Linked DNA regions of Homo sapiens: regions 1, 2, 3, 5 and 6 are each linked to region 4. The links are contacts of gene promoters, found by promoter capture Hi-C in blood cells and fetal thymus (Javierre and others, 2016). All regions are on one chromosome and are shown on one strand. Each heading gives the region's core, a stretch centred on a gene start or on the middle of the fragment in contact. The rest is flanking DNA. Distances are from core to core; before and after follow the strand shown.

Region 1 (4,786 bases), core at 1,843-4,342, 310 kb before region 4:
TATTGGCTTCAGTGTTATGACCAGGTTTGCAGTAGTGGTCTGTTTTAATCAGGATACTTTACAATTAATAGTCAGCTAAGATGTGGAGAAAGGAGTAAAACCAGAAATTCACCAACAAAACTCAAGGGAAAGGAGTCAGAAGGAAGGGATTGGAGGGAGAGAAAGATCCCAGGGCTAGAGATCAGAGGCCTACATACATGTTTAAGGACATTTGGGAGGATAAAGATTAAATCCAAGTAGGACATGGTGCAGATAGTTAGCACCAGCCATCTGAGGCAGTGTTTCAGACAGGGACAATCTTGCCCCACCCACCACCCCGCAGCACATTTGGTAATGTCCGTAGCCATTTTCGGCTGTCAGCAGGGAAACGGATGCTACTGGTAGCTAGCAGGTAGAGACCATGGATGCTGCTAAACATTCCACAATACACAGAACAGACCATCCCCCACCAAGAATTTTCCAGCCCAAAATGTCAATATCCAGCCTCAAATTTCAGACTGAGGAAATGGTAAGTTTTTGGCTGGGTCATTCAAATGGATATTAAGGTAGTCAAGGATAGCAGGATCTCAGGGCAGAGGATCCTTTTAAGGTGCCTTGATCTTCATCTCATCTCCAGGCCATTTTACTATGTTGACCAACAGTAGAAATAGTTCTTAGTAGCAAAAGCCTCAGTAAGAAAGCTCATAGTGTTTAAAACTAGGTTGAGTAAACTTCAGAACAATTTTTGGAGAGTCTAAGACTACTAAGCTCCTCTCCCAGCTCTAACAAATAACAGCCTTGTGAAGAGTTTCACAAGCGATATGCTTAGGTTTTAGTGACTCAAGTAATCTTGACAGTTGAAGAGGGTAGCTGGAGAAGCTGACTGGAGTTCTAGAGGCACAGCAGAAGGGAAATAGAAGTCAGTATAGGTGTACAGGACAGAACACTGGAGGCATATTAGGGTACCAGCCAAGCCTGTCAGTTGCAAATCCTGTTATGGTCAGTTACCTCCAAGTTCTAGGGGAACTCTAGGATTATGTTGTACTACGTAACTATGACATGGTACTCGAGTCTGAGGTGGCTATGAAGCTACAGGTGAGATCGGTATAGTTTTAGAAGTTCTACAGCTTATGTGCACCTGCTCAGATGTTCAACCTCACCTCTCCGTAGGCACTCCAACCACTTGCTCAGACACATTGGAGCTATTTTCTTTCTAAGTGCCTGCATGGTTTCAACTGGAGACCTCCCAAACCTGTGTGCAGTCCCTAGTTCTTCCTTCCATTGTAGGAGGAAGCACCACACCCTGACAGCTTCTGAAGGGTTCCATGTTACCAGTAGTTGAACATGGGTCACTCACCCCAAAGGACACACCAGGGCAAGCACCAACCCAAAGCAGGGGCTCCATGGCCCTCAGTGCATTAAGCATGAATTATTTAAATTCCCTTAGTTTGGAAGGGATGATGCAGATGCCTGGAAGCATCTAGTGCCAAAATTAACGTCCTGGAGAAACGCAGTTTGAGTTTTCTTCATGAGGAGCAGGGCACCATACAAGGGGTACATCCTGAGAATGTTGTCCATACCTTGAGAAGTGCCATGGTTCTAAAACCATCTAGTGAGCTTACTGATCCTTAAGTTCAGGAGAAAAGCATACCTGTAGTAGTTGCAGGTTGCAGCATAAAGGTGCCCTACTGCTTGGGCTAGGTGATCTAACATGGTGCTGGAAGTAATTGTGATGCATGAAGATGCCACATGACACCTCTGGAAAATCCAAACATAAAACCCTAGGTTTCTACTGCAAGGCACGATCTATGACAGAACTATTCTGCATTTGAGAAATAGGCCATGACTTAAAACTATTAGACCCCAGGGGAGACTGAGTCCTGAACATTTCGCACCAAGTAATATCCCAAACTGGAGCTCCCCATCATAAGCTAGGTTTATACCAGATCTAAATCCTAAGGTTAGGTAGGACAGTAACAACTCACTTTTCCCCTCCCAGATTTGTTCTTCTATTGTATCCTCTATTAGTGGCACTACCACACAGCAGTGCCCATACCAGAAGCCTGGAAGCTGATCATGTCTATTACTACCCACTCTTATGACACCTATTCCAATCCCCAAAGTCAGTTTTCCTACTTGAGATGTTGCTATGTTGAACATACCAGTCTGACCATGTTACTGTCTTGTATAACACTACGCAGTGTCTTCCCTGACCCATTAGGTAAGTGCTGACACTCTTGTAAGAATCTGCTCCCCTCCCTCAGCTTGGTACTGGCAAAACCAAGCTGCAAGTTTTCTTAAGCTTTGTTCCATGTATACGGACGATGCTTTTTCTAGACTTCCCCTTTCACAGAGCAGCAGTAAGGTTTACTTTATGCTTTCATTCCCTGACCCTACCTCCCATTACCAACTTTGGGAACACCTTTAGGGTTAACCAGATTGTTATTGCCACACTGAAGTTACTCAGATACAGTTCTACCTTCCGGTGCTCCCAGAAGCAGGGGTTCTCATGTCAAGACCTTGAGATATAGCTGGAGGACCTGGTTAGCTGAGCAGACAAGGGTTCTTAGCAAGTCTCCCTCTGCAGACATCCATGTTAATATACACTGAACTAAAGAATTCGTGAACCATCGGGCATAGCAACTGAGTTGACATTGCCATCTAGACACCCAGAGCATTATGGCCACAAGTTAAAGTACACACACACAGGAGTTACAACTATCTTCCATTTGAGAAATAGATTGCAGCTTTAAATTATACCCTAGTACAGACTGAGGAAATGGAGTTCTTGCAGATGTTTGGCTGACAGTTGGTCCACTAGGTCCGAAGACCCACCCAGAAATATTTCCCCTGAGTACACAATTGAAATTGATGTGCTTGTCATTTGAATAAATCCCTACGTTGGGTCCCTAGCCATGTGAAGTAACAGCATCACAGCAGGGCCAGTTAGAAACTTCTGAAACTGTCCCTACCCCAGCCAAGATATTAAGTCACAAGTATTGCACCCCTGTAGGGGATGGTCAACATTAGTGCCATGCTTAAGTATCAAGCAAATATGGTTGGTGGTCCTTATCTGTTCAATTCTGCATTCTAGCCCATGACGAAATTAGATACTAGAGGATAATTAAAGCACTACAAGTTCAACCAAGTGTCTGGCCTGGTTCCCAACGGGTCGGGTTCCACAAGCAGTATACCTGGTCAGCTACTTTGTATCACAAAGGGCCCAAGATGAGAATGCACATATACATAGGTGGTTCAATGGCATCACTTTCCAGTCAGCAGCCTGGAACAAAGGACTGAACGGTCAGAGACAAGATTTGGGTAGAGGAATGTGGATGGACATAGTAAGGCTATGTATGAAGTGTGGAGCTGTGTGTCTCACATTAACACCCACCAGGAAGGGTCCATCTTGGAAAAGGTACTGAACTTACTTGACCTGGCTGAGACTATTGCAGACCCATATTGCAGGGCAGGGGCTCTACCTGTTCTTCCCTTCCCTGGTTCCTTGCACAGGTGTTACACCTGTAAGACCTGAAGATTCTCCCTTGCTGCTCCTATTCCAACTCCCTTCCACCCCCCACCCCAAGTATTACCCCCACTGAGTCTCTTGCACTTAACTACAAAGGATCCAAACTGACACCATAGAAGTTGTTCTTCCTACCCCTGCTAGTATTGATTGCCTTTAAATGCATTCCCCAGGCCTACATTCAGCACTCCCCTAACCACAGGCCGAGATGCAGAATCTAATCCAAGGCAGACTCATCCATATACCTTGGAAACCCCCCCCAAAATTATGCTCAGGGTCAGAATTGACAAAGTTGGCCAAAATTCCCTAGATCCTACTGGTAAAGGGTTGCCTTCTATTTAAGATTGGAGCTGAGCAAGAATCCAGCCACAGCCCCATAGTCAAATTCACAAAGCTTCCTGAAATTTACCTGTGTTTAAGAGCTCCTCTAACCCTGTGCTGGGAAGTTCCTCTCACCCCTCAAAATGTTTGCTACTTCTTCCGGGAAAGCAGTGAGAGACTTCCAACTATCTGTTATCTTGCCACTCTAATTTCTCCTCCCCAGACTTCACCACAGAGGTATTGCTAGAAGCAGTTCATTTCTTCCCTTAGTGTAACCCACCCAATCTGACATTCCCACCAAACGAAATGAAGACCTTAGAGAAAGTCTTTCCTTCAAGCAATCCCTAGTTTGGACTCAGTACATCTAGACAAATGACTTCAGTATTGTATGGGAAAGCTGTGAACACCATCTGCAATTCTCACTGTGAAACCTGAAGATGCTTAATGTCCCAGGACCTTCTCATTAGACCAAAATTATAGACACTCATCTGTCTCAGGAAGTCAGGACCATTGTGTGCCAAACTAGCATGTGTGGGAGGAGAGGCTTACCTAGAGATTCTATCAAACAGCTTCTGAGACCCCACTGCCCAAGACACTCACTTCCATACGGAGCAGGACCTGGCCGAGTTCCACGTTTGTCTTGCCCTGATAGTGGTACTCCTCTCCGTGGCGGGGTAGGGGAGGAGGGGGCGGCTGGGGGCGGGGGGAGTCTGATCCTGTTGCTCCTAATGCCACACTTTCAGGGAACCTAGAAAGCCTTTGAAGACCCTCAGACTGGCCTGTACCTTTTACATGCCAGTGTGGAGCCCTGGATATGAGGCCATCAGCAATATGCAGGTAGTGTGCCACAGCAAGACTGCCATAGAAATTCAGGGCTTAAGTGTCTGAGGTACCATTCACCTCACTTTCCCCATGGGGTTCTGAAAGTAATTGGGAACTACACCTGAAATCAAGATCAGA
Region 2 (4,780 bases), core at 1,018-3,517, 410 kb after region 4:
GGTTCAGAAGTTTAGAAAAGAATTTCAGAAATTTGGCAATCATTTTTCTGTTGAGAAATAACTAGTCCACAGAGGGCAAAAAAAAAAAAAATCAATCTGGGGCACACACCAGCAGATATTAATTGAATTAGGGAGGGGGCCGTGAGCAGGGAGAATGAGAAAAATAAGGTCCACCCACTCATTTCAAAATTAGGAACAAGGACCGTAAAAAGGATGCCAAAACGACAGCCTATCATAGAAAGTTAATCTTTTCACTTTATTTATTTATTTTGAGATGGAGTTTCACTCTTGTTGCCCAAGCTGGAGTGCAGTGGCATAATCTCAGCTCACTGCAACCTCTGCCTTCCGGTTTCAAACGATTCTCCTGCCTCAGTCTCCTGAGTAGCTGGGATTACAGGTGGCCACCACCATGCCCGGCTAATTTTTGTATTTTTAGTAGAGACAGGCTTTCACCATGTTGGCCAGGCTGGTCTCGAACTCCTGACCTTGTGATCCGCCCACCTTGGCCTCCCAAAATGTTGGGATTACAGGCATGAGCCACCACACCCGGCCAATATTTTCACTTTACGTTAAAGCTAATTAAGGTTTATAAAAGCAAAGTGGGTAGAGGAGATACTTAAGAATGCGTGAGGAAGAAAGGAGGGAGGGTTCTCGTCCTAGCCAGGCTCCTAATATGTATCTTAGTCCCTTCACTCCCCTCACCTTTAGCCGAACCTACTCAGCCCCTCCCAGGACACCATATCTATCAAGACCTAAGAATCCTCTGCAGCTCCTCTTTGCTTATTTTGAGCAATTTAGGCTCAGGCCATTACCATCAATTATTCCTCTCAGAATCAGGGTTGCCAGAGTTAGCCAATACAAATACAGGACTCCCAGCTAAATTCAAATTTCAACTAGACAATGAATAATGTTTTAGTATAAATATACCACATGCAATGTTTGGGACATACTTATACTAAAAATAAAATCCTTGTTTATCTGAAATTCAAATGTAACTAGGCATTTTTTTTTTTTTTTTTTTTTTTTGAGATGGAGTTTCACTCCTGTTGCTGCCCAGGCTGGAGTGCAGTGGCACGATCTTGGCTCACTGCAACCGCCGCCTCTCGAGTTCAAGCAATTCTCCTGCCTCAGCCTCCCGAGTAGCTGAGATTACAGACACCCACCACCATGGCCAGCTAATTTTTGTATTTTTAGTAGAGATGGGGTTTCACCATGCTGGTCAGGTTGGTGTCGAACTCCTGACCTCAGGTGATTCACCCACCTTGGCCTCCCAAAGTGCTAGGATTATAGACGTGAGCCACCGTGCCCAACTGCATCATCTTTTATCTAGCATCTCCACCCAGAATCCCACGATCAAAACCAAATTTTGTTGAGATTACTCCTCTAGCAAGAGGCTTCTTTGCCTGCTCTCTGTCTGCAGGAGTGTTTTCTCAGAGAGGAGCATAGGGAAGACCCCCAGCCCAATACCATGTAGAATATGAGAATCTGTGTCTTACCATAGAAAGTCTAAGTTCACGTGTATAGGATCTCATGCATGATTTATTCAAACATTTTTATCAACAACAATGGGAGCTCAGAAAAGTTAAACAATTTTCCCTGAGTGGCAGTTATTAATGCGGAGTCAGGACTAGAATCTATGTAGCATAGGGTTTTTTTTCCTTATCATGAGAATTTATCATAAACTTTATATGTATATAATACCCCAAGCTTCAGGAATCAGATGGTGAAGTTGGTACTAAATTCTAAAATAATTTTGTAAACTTAAAAAGGATAAAATGACCGAAAAGAAGAACATGACAAAGAAAGTTGGCTTTTGTGAAATCTAGTTTGTAATGTACCTTTTGAATCTCATTTTGAAATTCTGCAATCAATTACTTTTCAATCAACCAGTCATTCAGCCCTTCAGAACAGCATACTTGCTCTGATTCAAAAGCTCCACAAAGCAGGCTAATTCTCATTAGTGCACATCCATCACTGAGCTAAACATGCCTTCCTGGCAGCAGACACCAGCAAATGTCAAGGAAGGTGGGAAGAAGCAAATGAAAAGAGCAGCAGTTCTGAAAACGGAAAATACTTCTTTCGCCCAGTTTGTATCTAGGGGCTATGGGAATGTTTAATTTACTAATGGGCCCCGTTGTCATTTGAGAAGCACATTGCACTATTGAAACCTAACAGAGGCTCTCACCTAGCAGCAAAGCGGGCCTAAGATCTGGGCCAGGCTGTTCGGCCTTTACAGACTTTTGTTAAAAAGCCCTCATTTTCTAGAAATGGTATCCAAAGTGCATTCTCTCTCTCTCTTTCTGGAACTCTTACTATTTTGGAGGCTTCAGTGGGCAATTGTGATGATCATTTCCCACATGGTGTTTTTCCAAAATTAATATCCAAAATAGAAAACACAGCAAAGCTCAGATCAAGGTGATCTGTGACCTGCACAAAGTCTGCATCAATTTGGATGCTCTGGCTGCAAATCACAAAATAACTCATCTAAAAATGGCTTGACCAGGGTTGGGGGGTGCTTTTTTCACATAAGAGAGGCAGACGGTCCTGGTGTTGTTTCAGGGGCTCCCCAGTGTCAGGGCTCTGAGTCAGCTTCCCCTAATTTTCTTGGTCTGTCCCTCAAGACTGCAAAATGGCTGCAGCAGCTCCTCGCATGACATCATGGTATCCTTGCATTTGAAACCCAAAGCAGGAAGAGGTTTTTCTTGCTAGACTTTTTATTATCAGAGAGAAAAATCTTTCCAATAAGTATCCACCTGTGCCTCATGACTGGATCTCAGTCACATGCAAGGGAGTCTAGGAAAGCAAGCATCCAGCGTTTTAAGCTTCTGTGTAGTAAAACAAAGGCTCTGACAATGAAGAAAGAGCTGCCACATTTCCCACTAACCAGTATGCTTTGTGGGGCAGTGCCCTGCCACCAACACAGGCCAAGAAGTCTTTCCAAATTGGCTTAATCTCCTATTTCCCCATTTCTATTCATGGCACAAGCATTCTAACACTACTCTGGAGATCTTGGATTCATCTTTGACTCCCTCCTTTCCCTAATTCCCACATCTGGTCAGTGCCCATGTCTCAAGGATCACCCATTCCTTCTCAGGGAGTCTTCCATCTTGCCTCTCCTTTTGACTCTAATTGAGCATATTAATTCAGACTCTTATCACTTCACAGTCAGACCACAGTTCAAAAGTTGCCAAACCATCCTGCCTTCCAGCAGCGATACCACTTTTTCGTGACTTTCCTATTGAGAAAACTTTCAAGAATTCCCCCGTTAACCCCAGAAGATATTCCAAAGCCTTATTCCAACCCCAATGGGCTCCAGTGGTTAAGAAAGCTGACTCTGTAGTTAAAAGACTTGTGTAATATGGGCTAGTGACTTCACCCTCCAACACAGTTCTTTCCCACATAAAATGGAGGTGATGCTAGTACAGGGCACACATGGTGTCAATAAGTTGTAATTATTGTTTCTTGCTATTATTTTTATATATAGGCATTCTACATATTAGGGAGAGTAGGTGGGTAACATATATGAGGTGTCTGTCCTCGATTAGCTGATTTCAATTGCTGAAATACAATTCAACTGAGGCAGGAGAATAGGGTCTGGAGGCAGGGAACCTAAGGCTGTTTCACGCCAACTTCCTAGGACTAAATTGAAAGGAAAACCCTAACTTTTCATGCCTAAGTAATAAAAGGACCAGAAGCAGCCGGGTGCGGTGGCTCACACCTGTAATCCCAGCACTTTGACAGGCCGAGACAGGCAGATCACGAGGTCAGGAGATTGAGACCATCCTGGCTAACATGGTGAAAACTCCCGTCTCTACTAAAAAAAAGAAAAAAAAATACAAAAAGACCAGAAGCTACTCCCTTTGCAAACCCCCTGCCTTTTCTGCATGTCAGATGGGAAACTGGCTGTCCACAACAAATCAGACTGATTGCCGGTCAAGTCTTCATTTGTAATTTTGTAACTCCACTCCAGCCTCTGAATGGTTGCTGTCCACAACCAGTCAGACTGATTGCCGGCTAAGTCTTCCTTTTCATAGAAGTATAACTTTGTAACTTCACTCTAGCCTCTGATTGGTTGCTTTTTGCAACCAACCAGATGTTTGCACAGGAGTGTGACCTTTGTAACTTCACTTCAGCCTCTGGTTGGCTTTCTGTAACCAATCAGACTGATTGCATGCTACCACTTCATTTACATGAAGTGAGCATGAAGTGGCCAATGGGAAACTTCTAGGGAGTATTTGGACCCAAGAAGATTCTATATCCAGGCCCTTGAGCTGCTGCTCAGCCCGCCCCCACACTGTGGAGGGTACTTTCGTTTTCAATAAATCCCTGCTTTTGTTCTTTTGTTGCCTCATTCTTTCTTTGCTTTGCTGGGCGTTTTGTCCAATTCTTTGTTCAAAACACCAAGAACCTGGACAACTTGCAGTTACGACCATCATACCGGTGACACAACTATGTCCCTCTAATCTGCTACTTGATATCCATTTTATAAACGGGTCCTTTGTCTTTTTCTATTGACAAAGGAGAGTCCCAAGTGTAGCACCATTCTTGGCTGTGCTCATTCTTCAAGAAAGCTTCCTCCAAAACCCCAAGGCCTCATTTTGTCATCAGGAAAACCTCGACTTGCTGAGGCCATAAACCCTGGCTCGAGCTTTGACTCACTCTTTCAAAGCACATTATGCTTCCAGAAGCTGTTAACAGTATTTATTTATCTTCCTCTGACATCTGCGCAACTTCAAAAAGCAGAAAGAAAAAAGAAGTGGTGGTCTTTGTTTCATTATGC
Region 3 (4,491 bases), core at 1,755-4,254, 380 kb after region 4:
TACTAGTGTTGTTATCATCATCATCATCAACAGTTGGTGAAAATAAAGCAAGGGAAGATAACAGAGAGACTTGTTGCGACATGACTGGTCTCTTCAAAGTCTTGAAATGCTGCCAAGAGGCAGAGGGATTAGATGATTTCTCTTTGACCCTGGAAAGAGATATAATATCAAAGAGTATAAATTATAGGAATTCAAATTTGGGCTTAATGTACAGGGGACATCATTTTAATGGTCAGAGTTATCTGAAGATCAAAGGCTTGCTTTGAATGGGAGGTGTCCCTGATTACTGGAGTATTCAGTTCCACTCTGGATAATATTTTGGGTTGTAAGGATTAGCTGGACAATGGAATTAGATGACCTAAAAGAAGCTAGTCTTGTGTGTCTATAATCAAATACATCCATTAAAGCATCAAGCAGAATTTCAAGAAATGATTAAAACACAAGAAGCTCAACACAAAATCTTCCGTTACAATATTGTCACACCTCACACCTCACAAATCCACTCATTAGTTGTCCTGATCATTTCCACCCAATTCTCATAAATAGGAAAGATTCAGTAAAGAGATTTCATTCTGAATAATACACCCAGATGCACATACAAAAAGCCTAAAAGGCACCGTGTTTTATGGATGTTTAAATTCTAAAATTCATCAGTGTATACAGTGAAAATCACATATAGTCAAGACTGTCCTGAAAAATCTTCTAGGAAGGCACTATTTTGGCACCTGCCTCTTCATAAGCCCAGCACAGTTTCCCTCCAGCACTGGAACGGCCCTCTACTTTTCTGGTTCAGTACTAGATAAAGGAAAAGATGTTTGTTCTGGGGGGAAATGAGACCAACTGCGATTCATTATCTTCCTGATTCTTGCTTTAGGACATATACTCAGTGAGTAGACTATCAGGCTGAATTGATTGCATAATTTATATTGTTATTTTTCTATTTTGTCTATTTCTTCTGCTTTTTTCTGTTTACCAAAATTTACAGAATTGATTGAAGTCACTGAAGTTAAATGCACCCTCTGAACATTTAGGAGTAAACTGGGGCCTCTTGGTCAGCAAATGCTATCTTTTGGTCCATAGTTTCTATGACTACTCCCTGACCCCTAGAGATGCACTTTGTTTATCCAGCACCCTCCTTTCTAGGAAAGGCATCCCTCCTTTAAGGGAATAGCCCTCCCGTCTACAGTCAGTGATTCTAAGGTTTTCCCAACCATAGTGTTTCACTGGCCACCCAGGTGGGCATGTGGCCTAAGCCTAACCAACCAGAAGCCTTTGCTGGGATTTCTTCACTTACAACCAGAGAGTAGCTCTCAGTTCTCTTCCAAGGGCAAGGCTATGCCGCATCTTGAGGCTTCACCAGCTGTGTACCCAGACTGTGGTGTGAATGAAGAAAACAAGCAGAGAGAGGCAGTGTTAGGAGAAGGAGACTCCTAGCTCCATTCTTGTTCCACTTCCAGTGATCTCTAGGGTATGTAATCTCTATGCCCTTGCGCTTTTTGTACTGGTTCAATAAATATCTTCTTTTTGCTTCATTGAGTTTACATCGCTTGCAATAAAAAGAATTTTAATACAGCCCTCAAGAGTTTGCTTCCCTGACCTGTATCAGTATTTATGTTTTCTAGGCAAATGAGAGAGTACACAGGAACAGGCTTGGGTGCCTGGCCCCAGATGTGTTACAGTACTCATTTAGAAATATGTTAGATAAGCTCCGTAGAACCCTACCAAATGTGAACAGCCATTTTTGATTCTTTGAAATCATTCAGATTATTTAACACAGGCAGGCAGGCAGGCAGGCAAGCAGGCAAGAAGGAAGGAAGGAAGGAAGAAGGTAGGAAGGAAGGAAGGTAGGAAGGAAGGAAAGAAGGAAGGAAGGAAGGCAGGCAGGCAGACAGGCAAAAAGGAAGGAGGGGGGAGGGGAAAGAAAATGAAATAAAACCCTGTCCATTAATGAGAACACTCTGTTTTTGCCTCTGTCTTTCAAAGACATGGGGAAAATGATCTCATTCAACCACAACAAAGATTTATGGAGTGCATATTAGGTGCCAGATGCTGATATGGAGTGGAGGACACTACGAATGAATAAATGTAGTCCCTGCTCTTGGGGGGTTAAATGCCTAAAGAATTATAGAGGTTTGAACCTCCCCAAAATGTCTGTCTTTCCCCCTATTTATCAGAAGTTGAGATAATTTGATATTTTATATGATTCTTAAGAGTCAAGCTCTCACCCTCCACTAGGAATACACACACACATACACACACACAACCAAAATAATCATCTTGCAATTTCTGAGGGTTGACAGATATTTCCTTATAACTTAAATAAATCTCTCATTTTAAAAGCTGTCCCTCTGGACTAAAAAAAATCTGATTTAGAAACTTTACCACAGTCAATTCATATCATTTACTTTGTAAGGAAAAAGTCTTCATGTTCCTCTTCTATATGCAGCCCTTGCTCTGCTGCAGCCGCAATATCCCGGTGAGGCTACCGGGAGGTCATTCAATCCACTTCCTTTCCACGGGGAATGGCTGGGAAGCTTTGGTTAAATGAGTGGTCCAAGGTCACATGGTAACAAATTCTGGCCCAGAGTCCTAATCTGAAAACCCTAGTCTTTTCCTCTCTCTGCTAGCATACACAGGCCCTCATTGGTCTGAGAATTAGCAGAACAGAACCCATATTGTTGAAGAAATTTTCAAATAATCAGCCACTGACTACAGCCCTAACATCCCCTTTATATATATATATATATATACCAAACAAACAAACAAAAACCCTAAGCAACTCAATCAGGAGAAATTCTTTTTAAGTTTCATTTACATGGATAAGAATCCTAAATCTTACCTATCTAGCACATCATGTCAAAAAACTACAAGTTAACCAAGCAAGAATTCTGTGAAACTACCTGGTCAGACCAGCAGAGCTGAGAACAGTGCCCTGGGCATGCAGGGTTAGGGATGTTCTGTATTTGGGATGCCCTGTACTTGCGATGCAGTGTTACCACCTGGGATAGGGAGGAAGTGAGCCTTTTTTAGACACTGTATCTTTGATAGTCCAGGTGATTTGCCTACACCCATCCAATGCCAACTGCATGTAAACTGGGGTGACTTGTTAGTTCCTGGATGACAAGGGTATGACCCAAGATGGGCAGACACACGGACTCTTTCTCACCAGGGCCTCTGGCAGACATTTTCCATGTATCAAAGCTCAAAGCAAAGTTCTTTTACAGCAAAGAAGACCAAGCAGTTGTCACTGAGAAGAAACCTGATTGCTCTCCTTGCAATGATCCTTTCAGCACTAAATATCTAATCCCATTGTAAGACTGAGAAAGTCACCAAGTGTGTTGTATTGCAGCAGGAAATCTATTTGAAGACAGTTTTAATAACAAGATAAATAGAAGTTCCAAAGGGTAGGAAAGGATTTCCTTAAGTGAGAACATAAATAACTCATCATTAAAATCTGGGTATGATGGAAGCTTGGCTGAAAGCAAGACTCTGGATTGGCTAGCTCAGAGGGAGTTCTCAAACCTCCCTGTAAAACTTTTTCACAGATTTCCTGTTCATGAGACTTGGGGTGGGATTGGAGGTAGCAGCTATAATTTATGAAAGGATCCAGGATCAGAAACTTAGAAAATCAGATCTGGAGACCCAACTTAAGTGTAGTTATTGGCTAGACTGTCCTCAGGGACTGCCCTGGTGATGTACACCAGGACTTTGTGTTTCTGTAATGTGCTTATTGCATAATATCTATTAGCTGGTGATTTTGGTTCCTTTTTTTTTTCTAAATCATGCTCCTGTTTTCATATATTATGAGCAAAGTGCTGTTATCTGAGAGTATCAGCTGACTCAGACCATTCAGTTCAGGGATTCCTCTAGGCTCCTGAGTAGGGGCTTAGATAGGGCAAATTCTGATGGTCTTACAAGGGAACCCCAGTCCTTCATGTCATAAGAGCATCTCTGCCTATAGCTTCATCTGATCTCAACACAGAGAACTAATAAGGTAGGGACATGGCATGATTTGGACTTCAGGAATATTACTTTCCTAGTTGGAAGGATGGATAATAGGAGCAATATTACAGTCTAGAAAACATGTTACAAAGATATTGCAATTGACCAGGCTAGAGAGAAAGAGGAACTGAACAGGAGAAATGACGGAGAAGAGATATACATTTGAGTAATAGTAGGAGGTAAAGTCAGTATCCTTGGTCATTCACTAACCATAGTGGGTGAAGGAGCAGAAAGACTCTGTGGTGACTTCAAAGAAGGATCACAACCCACTTTCCCTCTCGGTCTACTGCTAGTTTCACACACTAACCTGACTCCCAATCTCTCTCATTATCTTTGTGTTATTATGAAGTATCATTTCTGGTTATCAGACATGGCTTCCCATGTAATCATTTCCCATGCCAGGCCCTGTGTCAACAGTTGAGCTTTCTACCCACCTGGAGTTTGAGAACAGATCAAGACCAGCTTATGCCTAATATCTCAAATTAATTA
Region 4 (4,436 bases), core at 1,171-3,670:
GCCCAGCCCCAAAGTTAGCTCTTACTGGAAAATTGTCCTGATCCCCCAAGCTGAGCCTGAGTTCTTCCTTTATGCACCTCCCCTCAACTTCACCAGTATGTGGTGCATGTCTCTGTTAAATCACTTAGCACTCAGGTTCATGCCATTTCTCTTGTTGCTCCTTACTAAATAGAGAGAAATAGTGAATTCTCAAGTACACTTTCTTCTTTATACCCATTTCCAACAGTGTCAGGGTAATGTAGGAGCTTCATAAATATTTTTGGAAATAATGAACTGTATATGTGGGAGGCAGGAAAATTCTCCCTGAGATAATGTAAAGAGCTTTCCAATTAACCACCTCTTTATCCTGGGACAAGAGAGAGAGAGAGGAGAAGGTCTGGACACCAAAGTACCTGGGAATCCAGAAATCTAAAGCAATCAGATTTTTTTTTCTTCTTTTTGGCTCCAATCCTATTAATTCCACCCTCAACTAAAAATGATCTGATTTCAACAAACAGATGCTTTATAATCTCCCCTCACCTGGCCCTCCACTTTCTTTCACTCTAGTCTTTTTATTTCCTTTGAGTCGAAACCTCAGTCCATATTATGGCTCTCTTTTGCAGTTAGCCCCTTATTTTGTAACCAGATGTTTTAAAAAGTAGCAAAGAGGGATTCTTTCCACTTGCCATTCTAAAATGCCCACTTGAGTCTTTCATTTGGTGTTCCTCCTGCCTTAGGTATGGACTCACCTTACTCAGTCCCAACAAGACTCTATACCAGCAAATAAACTCAAAAGAAAGCTGAAATTTAATACAAAACCTTAATTTTAAAAACTATCCTAAAGGCTTGATGTTATGTAGAGACATCAGTGAAAACCACTATCCCTCTCTCAACCCAGTATTGGGTTTGGATCCTAGAAAATGCCAAAAATAGACAAAAATGTTTCCAGTTCTTTTTTTCTGACCTAGATAATGTAAAACCAAAGATTCATTCCTGGAAAAGTGCTAGGGTATTTTTGGGGATTTAAAATCAAGCTCAGTTAATGTGGTCTATAGGGCAGTCACTAAGATTGGTCCATGCTAAAACATGTCTTTGTCAACAATTGTAGGGCCAACACACATACTTTCAATACTCTTTCTTGGCGAGAAGTATAGGAACTATGAGTAATCAGAAATAGAAGAGCAAAAGGAAAAGTGAAAAGATGAGAAGAGTCCATGAGAAAAGAGAGGCAAATTACAGGGAAGGAGAAAATCGAGGTTTTTGAATGGGAAATACAGTGGACATGAGAGGATCTGAGAAACAGACATATTTCCTGTCAGTAGAGGCCGAAGGTAAACAAGGATGTCGTGTAACAGAAAGAAATGGGAAGGCCAAGTTAAAGAAAAGAATGAGAGAAGGCTTGGAACTAAAACAGGTAAAGAGATAATGACAGTGAAAACTATCTCAGGCATGTCAACAGGACTGATAAGGAACAGTGAGGGACATCCAGGATCTCACATCAAAGACAGAAGGGTCAACATGTGGAGAGAGAAAAAGGAAGAGGGATCCCAGCTGTTAGGGGGAAAAGGTGCTGTTAAAGACAGCTCTAGTCTGCATTTTGAACCTTACATTCTGAAAGGAAGCACTTCACCAAGCCAATACAAAACACTGTACAAATCTCTGCTGTTCACAAATTTTAGAGTAAATAAAAGCAAACTAATGCTACACATCAAATACCTTAACTGGCGAGACATAATTCCTAGTTCATTTTAGCCGCCGGGGGCAAGAAGCTATCAAAGTGATTTTTTTTTTCCAGCACCTTAATGTGAGACAAGTATGAAGGAAAGACAAGTATGAAAGAAAAAGTCCCAAACCAATATTGCCCAGTAGTAATTTTCAGAGTGATTTCTCTTTTCAGTATAGACTTGGATGTATTCGGACCCCTTGGAGGGGGCGCCGGAGAAGCGGCCCAGAAAGTATTTCTATATTAAGAAAAATTTAGTTTGGATGCAAAGTGAGTTTTGCGGACCTCAATACAGCCTCGAGAAATCTGAAGTACTCCTCTACAGCGTTAATAAAGAAAGATAACTCAGATTGCCTGTTAACTTGCAGCTTCTCCTCCTCCCCCATCGGCTTCAGCCTGAACTCATCAAAGCACCGGAGGACAGGAACGGACCTTCTATCGCTTTTGTTTCCTGCGTGGCGGAGACTTAGAGGAACGGCCGGTCGCCTACCTGCCTTCCACTTCCCCGGCCGCAGAGCAGTTCGCTGCCGGCTCGGTTCGCCGCCAACCTCACCTACCGGCTGGCTCTCCGGCCTGACTCTTCTGGGATGGGTGGCAGGGGGTGGGGGAGACCTCAGGGGGCGGAGGGACACGAGGAGGCGGGCCTGACCCTTCCCCCAGAGGCAGGGAGGAGGTGCCGCCAGGGCGCAGGTGAAACCGACTCGGCCCTATCCCGGGAACTTTCGCTGTGAGGACTCGTTGCGAGAGGCTAGAGTCGCGCAGGGGCGGCCTCGGAGCCGCCCTCTCTCACGCAGACTGCCGCGGGGACTCAGCCTTGGGGCCACCCGGAGGGGACCCACGGCCCTCCTGGCGCGCTCACGGGCTGCGGGCAGCGCTGGCCTCCGCGGCTGATGGGGGCGGCTAGTGCCGCCCCGGGCGCAGGTGACACTCGCCCGGCCAGGGTTTCCTCTGGCTGGGGAGAGCCCCGGGAGGGCGAGACTCAGACACCTCTGGGGCGGAGGACAAGGCAGCGATGGCCCGAGAGCTGAGCCAGGAGGCACTACTGGACTTTCTGTGCCAGGCTGGGGGCCGCGTGACCAACGCTGCCTTGCTGAGCCACTTCAAGAGCTTTCTCCGAGACCCCGACGCGTCCCCCAGCCAGCACCAGCACCGCCGCGAGCTCTTCAAGGGCTTCGTCAACTCGGTCGCCGCAGTGCGCCAGGACCCCGACGGCACCAAGTACGTGGTGCTCAAGAGGAGATACAGGGACCTTTTGGGGGAGGAGGGGCTGCAGCGACCCCGCGAGCCGCCCGCGGCCGCCCCCAGTGCAGGGGGAGCTGCGCCCTGCTCCCCGCGAGGCGCGCGCCGGGGGGAGCCGCCCCAGCAGCAGCCCAGGCGGCGGCGGCGCGAGAAGGAGCCGGAGGAGGAGCCAGCAGGTGCAGCAGCCAGAGCCGCCGACGCAGCTTGCAATGGACTCCCGGGCAGCGACTCCCGTAGGGCGCCCGGGAAGGGCGGCGGATCGAAGGGCAGTCCCGGACAGAGGCCGCCGGTGCCCGCAGCTGCAGCGGCAGGGGCCCAGGCGAGAGCGAGCTGCGCGGCGGCGAAGACGCAGGGCCGCTGCTGCTGGGAATGCCTCCAGAACAACCTGGCTGTACTGCCGGGAGAGCTCGGCGCACTCCCGCACTCGGCCACCGCGGAGGAGAAGCCGGCACGGGCTCTGCCTGCCCAGGATGACCGCGGGGCTTCCAGGGAGCGGGAAGAAGGCGCGCTAGCTGAGCCGGCGCCTGTGCCTGCAGTGGCTCACTCGCCTCCCGCCACCGTCGAGGCTGCGACAAGCAGGGCTTCCCCGCCTGCTCTCCTGCCCGGCCCCGCTCCCCGCGGAGACCGGCCGGAGCTGCTGACCCCCAGCTCCCTGCATTATTCGACCCTGCAGCAGCAGCAGCAGCGCACTCGAGAGTGGGTGGCCAGGCACCCGCAGGTGCCCGAGGCCCGTGATCAGGGCCCTATCCGCGCCTGGTCGGTGCTGCCAGACAACTTCCTCCAGCTGCCCTTGGAACCCGGCTCCACGGAGCCTAATTCAGAGCCGCCAGACCCCTGTCTTTCCTCGCACTCTCTCTTTCCTGTTGTTCCGGATGAGTCCTGGGAATCCTGGGCGGGGAACCCTTCATTGACTGTCTTTCGCAGCATTCGTTGTCAGCTGTCCCTCCAAGATCTGGATGACTTTGTGGACCAGGAGAGTGATGGCAGTGAGGAGAGCAGCAGTGGGCCCAAAGACTCCCCGGGGGCTTCTGAAGAGGGGCTGCAGGTTGTCTTGGGAACCCCAGATAGGGGGAAGCTCAGGAATCCAGCTGGGGGCCTTTCTGTATCTCGGAAGGAGGGCAGCCCCAGCCGGAGCCCTCAGGGTCTCAGAAACAGAGGGGATGGTCACATCTCTCAGCAGGTCCCTGCAGGGGCTAATGGCCTTGCAGGCCACCCCCTGAAGCCTTTGCCTTGGCCAGTTCCTAAGTTAAGGAGGTCCCTCAGGAGGAGCTCTCTGGCAGGGAGAGCCAAATTGTCCTCCTCTGATGAGGAGTACCTCGATGAGGGCTTGCTGAAAAGAAGTCGGCGCCCACCTCGATCCAGGAAGCCCTCCAAGGCAGGAACGGCACCCAGCCCAAGGGTTGATGCAGGTTTATCACTAAAACTTGCAGAGGTTAAGGCTGTTGTGGCCGAGCGGGGTTGGCGACACAGCCTGTGGGTCCCCAGTGGGGAGGGG
Region 5 (4,654 bases), core at 1,452-3,951, 360 kb after region 4:
AATCTAGAGGTCAGCTGATTAACAACCTTAATTCCATCTGCAACCTTTATTTCCCATGGCACGTAACACAACATAGTCACATGGACTAGGAGGTGGACATCTCTGGAGATTATTCTACCTACCATAACCACTTACTAGCTGTGTGACCTTAAGCAAGTTAATTCTTTCCTCTAAGCCTCAGTTTATTTTCCAGAGAAACAGGGAAGGTGAGGATAATGGCACCTACTGCTGGGGAATATTGAGAGAATGAAAGTAGACTATGGTGAGGATATTGGCACCTACTGCTGGGGATTATTGAGGGAATGAAAGTAGACTGTGGTGATGAATGTAAAGCTTAGCATAATACCCAACAGTCAGGGATCAATAAATGCTGTTGGCCTTTATCACCATCCTCCTCCTCCTCCTCCTCATCACAATTGTTTGTAGGGGGAGGTAGGAAATGAAATAACACATCCTCAAGAGAAGTAACATCTGCTCCTTATGGAGGGAGAATGAGCACCATCATAGAGGACTCCTATCCTTGATCCCAGTCCTTCCTCTGCTCCATCCCGTTTTAGTACCCTGAAGGAGGAGCAGGTTCAGCAAACAGGATTGACAGACAAGAGGCCGCTGCACTCCAAATTGAGTCTTTTGTGTTCCTGGTGTTTGAACTCTCCTAAATTGGGCACTGGGCTCTCAGATCTTAGAAAGGGCATGGGAGACAGTTCCAGCCCCAAACTAGTTTCTCAAAGTCTCTTGAAATGTGTGGAGGGGCCATAAGAATGCCTATTCTGTGACAAGGGCAATACTCTCCATTTCCTGGTGTGTGTGTGTGTGTGTGTGTGTGCGCCCACATATGTGAATCCCGGCCTTCTCAGAAAGTGCAGTGCGACTTTTTTCCCTCTTATGAATTCCCCAAGCCCCTGCCGTTATTGTATGCCTCAGCCCAGTGAACTCTACTCAGCTTCAAAGAGGGGATGGACCAGGGCCATTCAGAGAGCAAGAGGCCAAGGCTAGCTGGCCCCCAGCCATGCCTCAATCCCCTTTTTCTGCTGCATTCAGATCAAAGACTGAGGCATTCATTTATATTTTATTTAATTTTAAAAATTTTCTTTAAATTTAAAGGAATTTATGTATATTTTACCTAATTCTTTAAATAATTTCAGCCATCTTAGCACGTTTATTCCATGTTCTTAAGAAAGACCCTTTGAATTGCTCCAGTTGGTTTATGTTTAAGTCATAATCTTTTCATTCCTTAGACTGAAATTCTGCTGTATTTATTCATGGAAACATAATATGTATATGCAATATGCATATCTGTGTAGAACATCTATTATAACGTACATATAGGGGATGTATATGTAAAACGTTTTACAAATAAGGAAAAGAGAACTTCTTTTCAGTAACTACATCAGTGGAGAGACTGAGTCTTTAGAAAATAAATAAGTCAACAAATTGTATATGTATTTCATGCATTTTACAAGTATATAAGGTAAGTCCACTTTTTATTGCCAATTCAAATAGAATAGGGCTCACAGGGCAATAGTTAAATATACATATAGGCACACACATGCCCTATCTCATTTTAGCTAATAATTTTCAACTCTTTCTTCATCAGATTCATATCAAAGTTATTAACATACTAAAATAGTTAGGCTTTAGTTTTCTCTTCTCTTTTTTTCCCTACTCCTGGTCTGGGAGAAATTCTAGTGGTTAGAAACTAAATCAGTGCCAGCAAGAAGAAAAATAACAAATCTCTTGATATTTTAAATATTTGATCATCTACTCCTGATGAAATGCTTTAACTATGAGATTTCTAGCACTTAGTAAATAATCCACAATGTGACTGACTAGATAGTTTCACTGTTCTAAGATAAGTTTCATGAGTGTCCAATGGTTCGATCTTAGGCCAGATATTCTTCCGCTTCCAAAGAAAAAAATCTACTTGTTCATTATGAGATTGATTTTGACCTCATGAATTATTTGTTTCCTAAAGTTTTCCAAAGCTTCCCCTACGTGTTTAGACTTATGATATTGAGAAAGTTTATGATTTTTTAGTACTGGCTTTAATATTAGAACTTGGCTTGCAACAAGCAGAACTAAAATAGGACAAGGGTGGCAATTATTGCTACTATCTCAGAGGGATTGTCTTGTTTGTCTCAGCAAAAGAATTCTCAAGGGTGGCTGAGCTAGAAGGAAACAGGGTAATAAAACTCATGCAGGAGGTATGGAATGCCTCCCTCCTGCTGAAGATAACAATAGTGTTCTATTAGTGACCACAGTGAGCTACCAACATTTTCCATCTCCATCAGATTCCAGAGGCCAGGCCGGGTGCTGTGGCTCACGCCTGTAATCCCAGCATTTTGGGAGTCTGAAGTGGGTGGATCACCTCAGGTCAGGAGTTCAAGACCAGCCAGGCCAACATGGCGAAACCCTGTCTCAGCTAAAAATACGAAAATTAGCCGGGCATGGTGCCGCACCCCTGTAATACCAGCTACTTGGAAGGCTGAGGCAGAAGAATGGCTTGAACCCGGAAGATGGAAGTTGCAGTGAGCTGAGATTGAACCACTGCACTCCAGCCTGGGTGAAAGAGCGAAACTCCATCTCAGAGGCCAGAAAGATACCTGAGCAGTAACTGGTAAAAGGATTTCTTCACTTGCAACCCCCACACAATTTGTTTACTTGTCTTACATTAGAGGCCATATATTGGTTAAGTTTTGTAACCAGACTGCCTGGGTTCAAATCTGGCCCCCATGCTTAGAAGTTATGTGACCTTCAACACATTATTTGACCTCTCTGTGCCTGTTTCCCTTCCTGTGAGATAAAGTTAATAATACCTATTTCATAGAATTGCTGCGAGGATTAAGTTAGTTAATGGATGTAAAACATTTAGAAAAATGATATTTAATAAATGCCCAATAAATGTTAGCTACTTTCAGTATCTTATATTCTCTTCCATAAATTAGGAATACTAATGCCTCACTTATATACCTCACAGTATTAAAGAGTAAGATTAGAAACATTTTATAAAACACCTTGAGAAGCATAACATGGCACACTAAAGTAAACAATCAGAGTGACTCTATGCCAATCTGGAAGTTGGCTTGATAATTTCAACCATCCCTAGAGGAAGGCTTCTGATCAGAACCCAGACCCTGGACATGATAGAAGCTAGAAATAAAATAGCAGAAGCAACATTAACATAAAGGTGAAGGAAGGAAAACAAGGGAAAGGAAAGAGAACTAACATCTCTGGTTGTGCCTACTATCTGTTTGGAGTTTGACACACACATGTTATTTAATTCTCACCAATATTTATGAGGTAAATATTTTGTAGATAAGAAACTAAGACTCAGCAATATTAAGTTTCCCGAAGTTATGAAGTTATAAATAGCAGAGCTAAGATTTAAACCCAGATCTGTCCAAAGGCAAAGCTTATCACAACTTCTTCCATCTAATTCTAAAACAGGCAGCTCCCTACAGCCTAAGAAACATAAAGCCATATACTATATTAGTGTAACTAAACAATGATGGCCAATATGATGACAGTGATCAAGGAAAGGCTGCATACTGATCAGAACAGCCCTCCACTATACTAGTGGGTAATAGGTCCTTGGGGAACTCATTGAAAGGAGATTATTATAACAGAATCTGGGATTCTGGCCATCAAAAGCCAGCTCCACCATGTTTGGGAGCATCTGCAGATATGGCCAAATGAGTAGATAATGGTGTCCCCAAAAGAACAAATACATGTTGCATGAATGAATTAATTAATAAAGGAAAAGTAGAGTAGGCCCTTAATACTTGAAGTTTTTTTTAAGTCCTTCACCAATATTCAAATTTCAGAACATTTTTTCTACCCACACCCAGTTGGAACATCCTGCTATCAGATTCCTACCTGCCATGCTTCCTTGTTGTAGTCATCTGCAAACTCTCAGGTCACTCCTGACTTGGTGAAGATTTTCCCCCCAGCTCACTGTCAGACCTCTCACCAACATGACTTTTGCCACCATTCTTAGTGACACCCATATCCTCACAGATGTCCTTCCAGTACTTGGGCCTCTGTCTTCCTTGACTCCTCCTCCAAGCCATCTTGGCTACTCAACTTCCATGGTCAGACTCTAGCTCTTGTTATTGCCAATGTGGAAATCTTCCCTAATCTCAATTTTAAGCATCTCAGTCTCTGACCACCTCCTCCTTTTCTTTTTTTCCAACAGCTTTATTGAGATGTAATTTACATACCATAAAGTTTCCCCTTTTAAAATGTACAATTCAGGCTGGTTGCAGTGGCTCACGCCTGTAATCCCAGCACTTTGGGAGGCTCAGGCGGGCAGATCACCTGAGGTCAAGAGTTCGAGACCAGCCTGGTGAAACCCTGGCTCTACTAAAAATATGAAAATTAGCTGGGAGTGGTGGTGCATGCCTGTAATCCCAACTACTCAGGAGGCTGAGGCAGGAAAATTGCTTGAATCTAGGAGGCAGAGGTTGCAGTGAGCAGAGATCATGCCACTGCACTCCAGCCTGGGCAACAGAGGGAGACTCCGTCTCAAAAATAAAATAAGATAAAATGTACAATTAAATGGTTTTTAGTATATTCACAGAGTTGTAGAACCATCACCATAATCACCTTTAGAATATTCAATTTATCATGCCCTAAAAAAACACTACTGACTTGG
Region 6 (4,810 bases), core at 846-3,345, 450 kb after region 4:
GTTCCTTCTTATTGCCAAATAGTATTCCATTATATGGCTATACCACATTTTGTTTATTCAGTTGATGGGCATTTGGATTTTTTCTATTTATGAAAAATTGTGAACAATGAGGCTATGAACATTTGAGTATGAGTCTCTGTACAGATATATGTTTTTATTTCTGCTGGGTATATACTTCAGAGTAGAACTGTTGGGTGATATGGTAACTCTATGTTTAATATTTTAAGAAATGGCCATCTGTTTCTCCAAAGTGGCTGCACCATTTTACATTCCCACTTGCAATGTATGAAAAAGTATACTTTTAATCTCTCTGAAATGACAGCATAATAGGACAAACCAAGCAATTTTGACAAAAAAGAAAGCATATTTTTCTCTGCTTGGGAGATGGAAGGAGAGGAGATGATTTTCTTCTGTGCTGCTTTTTGAATCTCTTATTTCCTGTTCCACAGCCTCCCTGGAGCTAGAGCAGGCATGAATGTGTTCGGCAATCAATGGAGTTAAAACGAACACTAAGTTGCCAAGGCCTCCCTCATTATGATGAAATACCCCTCCCTGTGCTCACACACACATACAAGCTCAATTTTTAAAACCACTTGTTAATTCTTAATACAAAGAGTAAAACACTTATCTTCCTCACCTTCTATTTTTTAATAGAGCATATGTTTCTCTATTATTCACAGTTCAGACTGCTACAAAAATGCTTTAACTAAAAGAAGGAACAATGCCTTTCACATTATTATATTCAAATATGAATTTAGAAAAGAGAGGACTGGAAGCATATTTAGTTTCTCTTTAACTGCCAATTTCATATAACTGACAACATGAATTATATGACACAAAATCTATTCATTATTCTATCCATTCAAGATCAAGCTGAGGTTTAAAGCAGACTAATGGCTGTCACGTGAAGCTACTGTTTGTCAGTCTTCAGTGAACTCAAGCAAAAAACAAGGAAATTGGAAATGGACAACATAGTGAGTCAAAGAATATTCACATTGTGGGGAAGCAGCCCCTGAAGAAAAGAAGCTTCTTGTGTGGAATTTGGCAGAGGTACAAGTTATTCAAGGAAACGCATGTTAGTGTTAAAAAGTTATTCTGTTATTTCAAGGGCAGGGTAGGTCGGAAACTGTGTCATATTCTATTGCCTGCTTAGGTGTAAAACTTCACACCATTACCACATTATATTGTCAAATATTCTGGACTTAAAAAAACAGTTATGTATCCACTTTTCTTTTTAGTCTATGTTGTAGTATAAGTTGAGTAAGAAAAGAAGCAATATAAATAAAATTCTAGAAAAGAATTTCTCTCCTCAGAGATCCCCAAATGAATAATTTTCTCTATCTATTCTGTTCAAGGGGGTCACATTTTCCTTAACCCTTAACCTATAGAACAAAAGAGAACCTATAGAACAAGAGAGTGGATCCTACTCTCAGACGGGAGGGAGAAAATCTTGATTTCATTCAGAGATGCTTGATTCATTCAGAGAAATGAAGTGATGATAAAAGCAGAATGAGACTTTTCAGTCAATTCTGTGGAGAAAAGAGAAAACACACCCATCCCATGAGAGGGTGAAGACCGAAAGAGAGAACTACAAAATATCCTGTCTAGGGATGGATTTCCACTTTCCTTAGTACCCAAGAAAAGATTAAGTGTAAGATTCTATGGGATTCCTTCCGCTTGAATTCCATAGTACAGTGCAATGCTCCAAAGATCACAGATTTTGGAAACAGATAGATCTACATTAGTCTTTAGGGTCTGGCTATCCCTTAGTAAGCATTCTCTAAATGGTGGTCATCTTAGTTTGGATTTCCTCAGAAACAGACCCTGAGACAAGACTTCAAATGCAAGTAGTTTACCTGGGGGTAAAGAAAGCTGACAAGGAAGTGGGAACATGAGGTAGAAAAGGGAAGGCAGCTGACATAGATGTTTGATCAAGCCAGCTACAACTGTGGGCAACTGGAGTTGGATTCTGAAGAAATTCTAGGTGCTAGTGGAAAACATACACCTTAGAGTCATCCCATCTGAGAGATGAAAGAACTAAGCTGCTTACGTACCAACTCCAGTTGGTCATGGAGGGTTGCTCTTGGTGTCATTACTGTGGCAAAGGGCTTCCAAGCAAAGAATTGCAGATGCTGACAGCTGGAAGTCCAGCCAATGCACACAGAAATGAAGGTGAGGAAATGTGGACGGGTCAGTTGCAGTGGTATAAGAAGAAAAAACGAGAACATGCTCCTTTAGGGTGCAGTGACCTCATCTTCTGTTGTTTCCCAGTGCTGTCAGATTTTAGGCACTCAATAAATGATGTGTTGACTAAATATGATAACTAATGAATGAAATGAGTTAGCTTTAAATCTTGGCTCCATCTTTTATGAAAAACCTCTTTCCTCATATATAAAAACAAATCTCATTCCACAAAATAATAAATAAAAGAATCTAACATAGTACCTGACCCACAGCAGACTGACACATATAAATAATGCTCTATAAATAATTTTATTTATTTAAATATAAATAATGTATTTTTTTCTTTTTTATACCATGGAATCCTCCTCTGTTTATTTTGCCTTCTCTGTTAAAGAAGCAAGGTGGCAGTAGTACTTTGCAGGGCCTGAGTTCAGAAATTTGCAATATGTGTTGGCCCAGTGGAGGGGGTCTACACCAACTGTCCTTCTTAAAGGTCAAATTTATTGACTTACATATGTAGGGGAAACTGTGATAGTAATGCTTTCAAGGGAGTGCCAACAACTGATTTAATTGTAGACTTTGAGCCAAGAGCAACACCATGCAACTATGAATGTAGTCCTAAAGAATAACACTCATTCTCTTAACCTTCCTCCTGCTGCCTTACACTTAGATCAATGGCTGCCTTGTTTTTGCCCTGCTACTCACTAGCTGATACTCAAAAGTAAAAATATAAAAAATAAACAAAAGCAAAAGCAAAGCATGAGAGAAAAGAGTCTATTTTCTGCCTTCTCATTCTCAAAAGTTTGCACACTCTCCTATTCTTTTAATTGTCTATCTCAACGCCCAACATGTATATTTATTTCTGGAATGCAGCCAGATCCTGGGTCTGAATTCCAGAAGCTCATTTCCCAGTTTCCATGAGACAAGGCCTCAAAAATGTGAACCTCTCAGAGGACACATGCAAGATGATAAAAGCTTACATTGTACCCACACAACTTCTTTCATTAAAAATTTTAACTTTTCAAAGGAAAAGAGAAAGGCAATTGATTCTAGAGTCCAATTTTTCTTCTTACCTTCTAGCAAATGTGTGGCTCAGGATACACTTTAATATACAAAGTGCTAAGCACTTTGACTAACCTGAAGAATGCTTATTTCCACTTAAATTGCCTGGGTTTTGACTTCAAATTCATGTCACAATGATTTTTAAATTTTGAGATCTTTAGAATACTAGGATCTGTCTGTACCAGGTTTCCAGGAACCAAGAATGAGTGAGAGATGAGGCCAATTGAACCAAGACCCTAGCAGGTAGCAATGGCTTTGAGGGTAACAACTGTACGTGAAGTTCCCAGGATCGTGCCAAGAGAGTGTACTATTAGGAAAGCCGGCGAGTAGGCCTTGCAGGGAAAGTGAATGCTAGTGACCATCATGAAACCAGAGCAGACAGATTGAGCGTGGACACAGCCAACTCAGCAGTAGATGAAGCTGGATGAGCACAGCAGATGTACTACATTTTGAACTAAGCAAGGGCTAGAAAGGGACAACCAAAATGAGATAAAGTTTGGTGTAAAGAGCACTCCTTCATAAAAGACCATCAGTTGTGGTGCCCAGCTCATAACCGGGGCTCATCAGCATGTCGGGAGGCATGAACCTCATGTGCCCCAGCAGATCATTGTTCTATCAGTTTGCAACTTATGTCTGATTCCCTCTTTTAACTGGTTTCAGTCCCTGTTAGCTTTAAACCATCTAATGTTCGTCTAGTATTTCTCCTTGAGTACCAGGCCTTGGGGGTTGAGGTTTTTTCATGGCCTATCCATGTGATGGGATATACCCCACCCAAACAACCAGAGTGGTCAGAGTCTAGCAGAAGTAAAAAGCAGCAGGAAGCAGCACCTGGGAAGATGCAGAGAGCCCAGTTGAACTCCCAGTGTTAATAGAAGTAGATGTGCATCCCCCACCGCCGCCATTTCACCGAGCAGGGCACCTTAAGGATGCCACCAAGTTGACTGACTGTTGCACACAGTTCATGCATTCCACTTTTTTTTTTTTTTTTTACCAGTTTATCAAGATATGGGGTAACATAGATGGAAGGGTTCTTTGGCATCACAAAGTGACAACGCAGTTTTTACTTTGAAAGAAATTTTTCAGGCTGAAAGTTAAAAAGGTCTTAGATGTGTACCTTAGTAGTTTTATGACCTTCAGCAAGAGTCCAGTCTCTCCACCTATAGGACTTCCCAGAGTTTTGCAATGCTTACATGAGCTAGCATGCCTGTTACAGAGCAGGACCTCAGTCAAGTTACTGACAGTACGGTGATAAAAGCAACCCAGGAAGTCTTGTCAATTGAGAGTGAAAAATAACCCAAGAGATCAAGAGTTATGGGGTGGAGGGGGAAAACTCTCCCAACAGCAAAGAGAGTATTTACTGTTTCTTTGTGCATCATTCCCTAAGTTACTATGATGTTGACAGTTGTCTTTTGGTTAACAGTTGTCTTTTGGAAAGCCCTGTCCTGTTGTAGACCCAGGAAGTACCTTAGAAATGTACATGAGAGGGAGGAAGAAGGTGGCTTTAAGAGCCAGTACTAAAAACCTCCCAGGGTTTAAGTACCTGCCATGGGTCTGTCCATTTCAC

The links. Contacts are between HindIII fragments. The CHiCAGO score rates a contact against its expected background, and 5 or more counts as called.
Region 1: a fragment that was not itself captured here is called in contact with the fragment with the promoter of SOWAHB in region 4 in 1 of 17 cell types (activated CD4 T cells); the score reaches 5.6 in activated CD4 T cells.
Region 2: a fragment that was not itself captured here is called in contact with the fragment with the promoter of SOWAHB in region 4 in 3 of 17 cell types (megakaryocytes, endothelial precursors and M2 macrophages); the score reaches 6.3 in megakaryocytes.
Region 3: a fragment that was not itself captured here is called in contact with the fragment with the promoter of SOWAHB in region 4 in 2 of 17 cell types (M2 macrophages and endothelial precursors); the score reaches 6.4 in M2 macrophages.
Region 5: a contact is called between a fragment that was not itself captured here and the fragment with the promoter of SOWAHB in region 4, in 2 of 17 cell types (M1 macrophages and M2 macrophages). The highest score is 5.6, in M1 macrophages.
Region 6: a contact is called between a fragment that was not itself captured here and the fragment with the promoter of SOWAHB in region 4, in 1 of 17 cell types (M1 macrophages). The highest score is 6.6, in M1 macrophages.

What each region holds. Positions count from the first base shown.
Region 1 is chr4:77,205,244-77,210,029 of GRCh38, reverse strand. No RefSeq gene overlaps it. Among named protein-coding and RNA genes, the nearest start is that of CCNG2, 50 kb to the right of the region's middle. The HindIII fragment of the contact is 1,618 bases long and covers 2,284-3,901 here.
Region 2 is chr4:76,489,471-76,494,250 of GRCh38, reverse strand. The region is part of intron 1 of SHROOM3 (shroom family member 3); the gene reads right to left. Among named protein-coding and RNA genes, the nearest start is that of SHROOM3, 57 kb to the right of the region's middle. The HindIII fragment of the contact is 1,115 bases long and covers 1,710-2,824 here.
Region 3 is chr4:76,515,881-76,520,371 of GRCh38, reverse strand. The region is part of intron 1 of SHROOM3 (shroom family member 3); the gene reads right to left. Among named protein-coding and RNA genes, the nearest start is that of MIR4450, 55 kb to the left of the region's middle. The HindIII fragment of the contact is 936 bases long and covers 2,537-3,472 here.
Region 4 is chr4:76,896,128-76,900,563 of GRCh38, reverse strand. SOWAHB (sosondowah ankyrin repeat domain family member B) reads left to right here and starts at 2,420. Exons shown (of 1, transcript NM_001029870.3): 1 at 2,420-4,436. The coding sequence starts at 2,715. RefSeq lists silencers at 2,260-2,329, 2,400-2,699, 2,960-3,069. The HindIII fragment of the contact is 5,905 bases long and covers 1-4,436 here.
Region 5 is chr4:76,537,798-76,542,451 of GRCh38, reverse strand. All of the region lies in intron 1 of SHROOM3 (shroom family member 3), which reads right to left. Among named protein-coding and RNA genes, the nearest start is that of MIR4450, 33 kb to the left of the region's middle. The HindIII fragment of the contact is 1,427 bases long and covers 1,988-3,414 here.
Region 6 is chr4:76,445,751-76,450,560 of GRCh38, reverse strand. The region is part of intron 1 of SHROOM3 (shroom family member 3); the gene reads right to left. Among named protein-coding and RNA genes, the nearest start is that of SHROOM3, 13 kb to the right of the region's middle. The HindIII fragment of the contact is 2,133 bases long and covers 1,029-3,161 here.